2 separate regions of the Homo sapiens genome follow, and region 2 is linked to region 1. Evidence: promoter capture Hi-C in 16 types of primary human blood cells and fetal thymus (Javierre and others, 2016). All regions are on one chromosome and are shown on one strand. The core of a region is centred on a gene start or on the middle of the fragment in contact, and the rest is flanking DNA. Distances in the headings are between cores, read along the strand shown. Region 1 holds the start of PDCD10 (programmed cell death 10). Region 2 has its middle 13 kb from the start of RPL22L1.

Region 1 (3,928 bases), core at 396-2,895:
AACCTGTATGGATATAAAGTTATCACAAATAAATTCTGCCATCAATGAACATACTCTAACAATTCTATTAAAAACTTATCCAATAATAATAGTCATGAGCTATAACTGGTCATAATCATTATAGAGGATAAGACTTGCATAAAGGCACTACTTTCTGCAAGATATGAACTATACGTGTACTGTTTTTTCATTCTTCAATGTAAAGTAAGAATGAATTGAAAGTCACAGTTGATGCTAAGAAAAATAAAAATATGCAAGAGCCCAATTTTATTATTTGCAGACACACACACAAATACAGCCCAGAGTCAAGAAAATGGGGGAAAAGTAAAGTCTCAAAAAAGACGATGTTACCTCCAAGAAATGCAAAATACCTTCTTTTCTAGTAATGGGCACACTAAACTCTCCTAACGCTACATTATTTGAAAAAAGTGTAGTTTTGTGAAAGAATTCCAATCCCACTATTATCAGTTTTACAAAATGAGAGTAAAAACAGTCCTAAGGTAGAAAAAGAAAAGAATATTCTTCTAAGGATGGGATATATTGTTTAACTGTTGTTCTCCCATCCTATTACCTACCCGTAAAAATGAACTGTGAGAGTAGAGTCTATCATTTAATACACCCCTAAAAAAAGGGGAAAAATCTGTAAAAGTTGAAACTGGCCATTTTTATTTTTTCCAAAAGGATCTTTCCTTTATTGAGGAATTTCACTCCGGTTCAAGAAACAACTTTTTATCTCACAATGGCTTCTTAGATATACTATATAAAATACATTTACTTTGTAACTTCCTCCACCCTTTTCAAAAAGCACAACCAACGTCCCTACTCTAAAGCTGGACTCGAACCGAACTAGATTCAGAAAGTCTGTCCCTACGTGTGTGACCTTGGGCACGTCATATAATCCCTCGGTTTCCTCATCAGCATCCCAAAATGAAAGCGCTCTGAAAGCAGTAAAGGAGTAAAAACATACCTTAGGTATGACACCTAAGAGGGTCAAGTCTTTCTGTTTAAGGCAAAATTATCTCCTTAGAGGGCCACATCATTAAACTGGAACTGAATCCGTAGACCCCAACATTTGTCTCTTCCTTCTTCCAGTGCTCCTCTTCCCTCAAAGGGCATAACCCGAGTCACCCCCAAGAGCCGACTCCCAAGCACCCTTTCCTTCCTCCTCCCTTTTCTCTTACTTACAAAGCAGGGGGAAAACAGCAGCCTCACCTCTCGGTCCGAAGCCACACCTTCAAAGGACCCCACCCCAGGCACATCCGCCCTGTCCCCTCTCCCGGGGCACCAGGGGCCAACCTCGCCCTTCCCCTCCCGCCCCCACCTAGAGGAGACTTCCTGGAGGCGTTCGGGCCCAAGCCGGCAGGCGGCATTTACAAACCCGCTTTACGCCACTCGCGTAGGGTAACCTCGCTTACGCCCGTAGGGCCCCGCTCTCAGCCCCGTCCGCTCCGCCTGCCAGAACCAAGCCCAAGTGCCTCAGCCATGGCCCCTGCGTGACCCTAGACCTCTTCTGCTCGGTGCAGAGCTACGGGGACTGGGACAGAACAGCTACACCTTACCAGCAACTGAGGCACTGACTTCACTTCCCACCTTGCAGCCCTCTTCAACTCCCGGATCAATTCACTCCGGCGACGCCGGAAGGACCCAAGAGGAACCAGGCGTTGTCCGGAATCCTGCCCAGCCGGAGTCGTGCAGAGGCTTATGGGGACTCGTAGTCCCGCTCGCCGGCGTTGTCCGCAATTCCTGCAATCGGAAGACTACACTTCCCGGCAGGCCATGCGGGGGATCCTGAGGCGATGGGTGGTGACACTTCTAGCCAATAGTAGGAGAATTCCCTGCCTTTGCGGGAGGAGGTGAGATGAAGAGAGATGGTGCACGGAAAGGAGAGGAAGGGCGGGGCAAGCCCTCACCTGCGCCAATCAGGGTGCGGAGTAGGCCCCGCAGGCGCCTCACCCATTGAGGGGGCGGGCTGACAGAGCAGAGGAAGGAAGGGGGTGAGGGGCCTGTGGTGGGGATCCTGGGGCTGTCGGGCTGAGTATGCCGTGTGGGTGGAGAGGAAGCCTCGGGGAAATCGCCCAGGTGAAGGGAGGGCTTGGTGTGGGGACTTGCACTGGGCAGAGGGGCAGCTTCCCTGAGAGCAGCTAAGCCCCAGGCACACCGGGCATCCGGACACACAGGTCGGGGAAGGATAGGCTGAGCCGGGGCTCCCAGCAGAGACGCCTGGGTGGGGCAGGAGGCCGCTCCAGGTGTGAGCCACAGAGGAGGGGAGAGGGACCCCCACGGGAGTGGAAGTGGCAGAGCAGCTGCAGAAGTGCAGGGAGCGGAAAGGTACCAGGGCAGCTGCTTTCCGCTGCCTCCGGTCCGGGCAGCTGCAGAAACAGCAGGGGGAGGAGCAACAGCTGCCAAATTCGCCAACTAGAGGAGGGAGAGGCGGAGCTTGGGTCCCTGTAGAAGCCAGAGGCGCAGTCTGGACTGTAGTTTCCCGGGAGAGACGAAAGCAGGAACGAGAGCGGAGCGGAGCACAGTCCGCCGAGCACAAGCTCCAGCATCCCGTCAGGGGTTGCAGGTGTGTGGGAGGTAAGCGTGGGTCCTTCTTCGGGGCGTCTGCACTGCCCTGGAGAAAACGTCTTCCAATAGGAATTACATCAAGACACAGCTAAAAGAGTCCGCGTTGGGTTAGGAAACCGGTGCAAAACCTCTCGGGTGAAAGATTTACATTTTTCGACTTTAAGGGCAAAAAAGCAAAAGGAAGCTTGACTCTGGGTATAAAGGGCGTGGTTAGTGTTTTTGGTTTGAGTTGCACCAGTAAAACTGTTCTGGGAGATCTGAAGATTGAGAAAAATCCTGCTAATTGAGGACGAGGTGGATGTTATCTGGTGGATGTTATAGGTGCGTAGCCTATAAAAAGCAAAAATTTTGCTATTGATATAGAATAACTTCTGAACTATTTCACTAGGAAAATAACTTTGCATTCTTCTTCAGTGTCTACCCTTTACGTTGGTTTATCAGATTGTCCTGCTACCGACCTGTTATCCAGGGTGGTTATTTTGCAGTTTCCTAGAATTGCAAGAAATCCGTATTAAAGAAGCAAGTGCAGGCAGGAATAGTCAGGATAGGATGGGCTCTGACTTAATCTATCAAAAGTATAACTTTTGCCAGCAATAATGTAAAAATGAATTTTAATGAATGGATAGTTAGCTTTCTTCCCAGTGGCTCTGGAATATTGGAACAAAGACCTGGATTCAGCCTACAATGGAAACATATGGTGTACCTCACTGCTGCTCGTTAGTTTCTCATTTGTGTCCGATAATATGTGTACATTTTAAAAACGAGTACATGGAAAGCTGTGTGGGAATCTTTTCTCTGGGTAGAGAGTATGTGCTGAAGGACTACCCTTAATATGTGTTATGATAGTGGGTTCAGTTTAAAACACATGTAGTGTCATAAAATAATAGTTTATTCTCGGTATTAAACTATATGTGCATTCAAAGCAACGTTAATTGTAATACCTATGGATGGAAATAAGTTGTAATGCTGGGTAAAGATGAAAGTCTCACCTACCTTTGTGTAATTATGACAAAATTACAGCCTTTTATTTTTAGAGAAGTAGTAAGAAGCTATTTTCCTAGTTCATTTTCATTTTGTTACAGAGGTTCCCAGATTACATGGCTTTTAATCATAGTAGCATATTGCAGCAAATTTTGCTCTGAAATGCTTTCATTGTGACAGTTGCATATTTCAGAGTCTGTCTCAATACTTTATGTTTTTTTTTAATAACCAGGGTCAATAAAATGGAGTAATTGTCTTGTTTTCTCCTATTTCTATGCTTTCCTGAGTTCTCGGGATTTTAAATTTTATTTTTGTAATGCATCCCAAATTTCTTTTTGAAAAGAAATGGCTCAAATGAATTCTCTTCCCAGATTAAAGT
Region 2 (3,928 bases), core at 477-2,976, 3.1 Mb after region 1:
GTGAAACCCTATCTCTACTAAAATACAAAAAATTAGCCAGGTGTGGTGGTGTGGGCCTGTAATCCCAGCTACTCAGGAGGCTGAGGCAGGAGAATCGCTTGAACCTGGGAGGCGGAAGTTGCAGTGAGCCGAGATTGCGCCACTGCACCCCAGCCTGGCGACACAGCAAGACTCCGTCTCAAAAAAAAAAAAAAAAAAAAAAAAAAAAAGGTATATCCAATATTATGAGTTTATAGTGGGAAAATTATCCCAAAAATCTTACTTTGTTTTGTTTCAGAATAGAAAGCCCCAAAATACCTTGGTTGGTGGGGATATTTATGCATCAGTTATATCACAGGGTGGCAATTGGAACTGGGAACAAGGAACATGAGAAATATCTGTGTTTATCAAAAGGAAGCAGGTGTTACTAAAGCCCGAGAAATGCTGACCTATTTTTAACCACTTCTTTATATACAGAAGGGGAAACTGAGGCCCAGAGGGTGAAGAGATGTGTCCAAGGTCACAAAGCTAGTAGGCAACAGAGAGGCAGGATGTGTGACATGGCCCCGTGTGTGGGAGGAGCACTGGGTGAGGAGTGAGAGGTGGGTGCCATGGTGTGACCATGGGCAAGCCAGTAAACCTGAGACCTGGTTTTTTCATCTGAAAAATGGGAAGATAATATTGTGCCACAGAGGGCTGTTAAGGGATCAAAAGAAAAGAGAAAGCCATTTGTAAATGCAACACATTGTTTAAAACTGGCCTTCCTGGCATTTTAATCATCCAGCTTGTAAAAGAGCACACACTGAAGCTATATATCTAGACTCCAGTCCCTTCAGCATGACCACATACAAGGGTTTCCAGACAGTAAGTAGGAAAACCTATGCTAAGCAAAACTTCCTGGGAACTTTTTCATCAGGGGTAATGGTATAGGTGGGTAGTCACATGGGAAAAAGGTATAATTGGATCCACTTCTCAAATTGTAAACCAGGATAAATTCCAAATAGAATAGAGACCTACATTTTTTTAAGATGAAAATATGTAAGTACTAGCAGAAAACATAAATGAATTCTTGATAACGGGGAAAGCTTTTCTAACCATGGCAATAAGAAAAAAGTTAATTGATTTAATTACATAAAAATAAAAATAATGCTTCTATAGCAACAACTACAACAAAACAAAATGAAAACTAGTAATAAAACAAAAGAAAAATAGCAGCTGGGTATGGTGGCTCACACCTGCAATAATAGCACTTTGGGAGGCTCAGGCAGGAGGATTGTTTGAACTCAGGAATTCAAGACCAGCCTGAGCAATATAGCAAGACCCCATCTCTACCCAAATTTTTTAAAAAATGAGCCAGGTAGTGGTGTGTGCCTGTAGTCTCAGCTACTCAGGAGACTGAGGTGGGAGGATGGCTTGAATCTACGAAGTCAAGGACGCAGTGAGCCATGATCCAGCCTAGGCAACAGAGCAAGGGCTTGTCTCAAAAAAAAGTTAAAAAACAAAAATACCATAAGTAGGGGAAAAAGACAAATGAGAAGCTGAAAAAAGAAATTGTAATTTACATCACACACAAGGAGTTAATAGCCTTAACATAGAGGGAGCTTCTAAAAGTAAAAAATTAAAAATAAAAACAAGAATTCCACAGATATATATTAGAGATATAAACAGGCAGCTCACAGAGAAAGATATGCAAATGACCCTTATTGACATTCAACCTCACTCACAAATACAATGCAAAGGAAAATTACCCTGAAAACCAGGTCTCACCTGTCAGTTAAGCCTCAAATTGGACAAGGTTATCTCTTGGTGTGTCTACAGGAAAACAGATTTCACAGATTGCTGGTGGGAAGGCTAGTGGGAGAGCAAAATGCTACAACCCCTGTAAAGGGAAATTCAGCAATATCTAGAAATTACACATTCATTTATCTTTTGACCTGTAAGTCTCAGGTTTACAACTCCTCTCTAGGGGCTGGGCACGGTGGCTCATACCTGTAATCCCAGCACTTTGGGAGGCCAAGGCGGGTGGATCACAGGTTCAGGAGTTCGAGGCCAGCCTGGCCAATATAGTGAAACCCCTTCTCTACTAAAAATACAAAAATTAGCCGGGTGTGGTGGCAGGAGCTGGTAGTCCCAGCTACCCAGGAGGCTGAGGCAGGAGAATTGCTTGAACCCAGGAGGCAGAGGTTGCAGTGAACTGAGATTGTACCACTGCACTCCAGCCTGGGTAACAGAGCGAGACTCTGTCTCAAAAAAAAAAAAAAGACAGAGAAACTAGACTTTTCTAAATATACTTTGTTTTGTAGATTGGACTTTAGAATCCTGTAAATATTTTACAGAATTATAAAAAACAAAGTGGGCTTAAGCAAACTTTTTAATCAAAAGCAAAATGAAACAAATGACTCTGTGTATCAAGCTTGTTCTACGCCCACACAGAGATGAATCATTTCTAGTGACTTTAAAACACGAAACTTTGTTCATTTCTAGTGGGATATACCATAAGGACAAAAAGAACTGCAAAACAATCTTAAGCTGTAAAGTCATTATATTATAGGTAGTTTTGTTGGTATTATTTTATTGAAACTATTATGTGTATATTGTGAGATAAAGCAAATGAGCATTTGTGTTGGTGTCATTGAGAACTGGAACTTTCAGCATGGGAAAAAAGAGATATGGTCATACAATTGATGAAATAAAAACTCTTTTATCCTGATTTTGAATTGGAAGCATCAGAATAAACATATCATTTCCTCTTAAGAACAAAAATGTATTCCTTCACTCTGTCCACTCAAAAGGCCTAGAAACAAACACCACCCCAGTAATGACAAGCATCTCCAGCACCTAGAAAATAGTCCAGAGCTCCTTGTAGAAATGGATGACTCCTGGCCAGGCACACTGGCTGACCCCTGTAATCCCAGCACTTTGGGAGGCCAAGGTAGGAGGATCACTTGAAGTCAGGAGTTCAAGCCCAGCCTGGCCAACATGGCGAAACCACGTCTCTACTAAAAATACAAAAGTTAGCCAGGCATGGTGGCACATGCCTGTAGTCCCAGATACTCAGGAGGCTGAGGCAGGAGAATCACTTGAACCTGGGAGGCGGAGGTTGCAGTGAGCCAAGATCGCGCCACTGCACTTAGCCTGGGTGATAGAGCAAGACTCTGTCTCAAAAAAACAAGCAAACAACAACAACAAAAAAACGGATGACTCCAGATCTGAGGCAGGAAATTTGGAAGAGCCTAGCACATCCTATTATACCAGAAACCAAATAAGCAATAAAATCCAAATAAGATCATGCCAAAAGGATACAAGAGTCAACCTGAAGAGGCTCCTATTGGCTCAGTATGAGACCATTTGCATATTAGTAAGTGTAACTACCAAAACTAATAAAACAAAAGAACTGCCAGACTGCCCGAAGAAACCTACAAAGGGGCCTCTTATAGTGACTTCAGTTTTATGGGATAATTGTAATGCTTCCAAAGCTGTTGTGCTCCAAAGTCTAGCCACGGGTATTGCTATTGATTGGGCTCCAAAAGGGCATTATTCGCAAGATTGCTCCGGCAAAAATACCTCATGCTCAGAGTTTATTTATTTATTAGATTATATGGAGAATGGATGGCAGTCTTACAGGCTGAGACAATGGGTGTCTCCTTACCCATTCAAATGGATGGACGGATGCAGGCATTGCTCCTCCTAGACCAAAAATGATTCATCCCTTTGTTACCCCAGAACATCCTGAACTATGGAAATTAGCTGCAGCCTTGACAGGAATAAGGATATGGAACACTACCTATCAACTCCTTCGTACTAATACCAAAACACCCACATTCAACATCACCTTCATATCTGAACGGGTGATACCCATCAGCAGCTGTGTCAAACCCCCTTACATGCTGTTGGTTGGAAATATAATTATTATTCCTAATACACAAACTATACAATGTGATAACTGTAA

Evidence for each region. Contacts are between HindIII fragments. The CHiCAGO score rates a contact against its expected background, and 5 or more counts as called.
Region 2: a fragment that was not itself captured here is called in contact with the fragment with the promoter of PDCD10 in region 1 in 1 of 17 cell types (non-activated CD4 T cells); the score reaches 10.4 in non-activated CD4 T cells.

What each region holds. Positions count from the first base shown.
Region 1 is chr3:167,733,247-167,737,174 of GRCh38, forward strand. PDCD10 (programmed cell death 10) reads right to left here and starts at 1,646. Exons shown (of 9, transcript NM_007217.4): 1 at 1,416-1,646; 2 at 968-1,104. It overlaps SERPINI1 (serpin family I member 1), which reads left to right and starts at 2,475. Exons shown (of 9, transcript NM_001122752.2): 1 at 2,475-2,577. RefSeq lists a silencer at 1,278-1,407 and an enhancer at 1,458-1,897. The HindIII fragment of the contact is 6,113 bases long and covers 1-2,750 here.
Region 2 is chr3:170,855,321-170,859,248 of GRCh38, forward strand. No RefSeq gene overlaps it. Among named protein-coding and RNA genes, the nearest start is that of RPL22L1, 13 kb to the right of the region's middle. The HindIII fragment of the contact is 1,328 bases long and covers 1,063-2,390 here.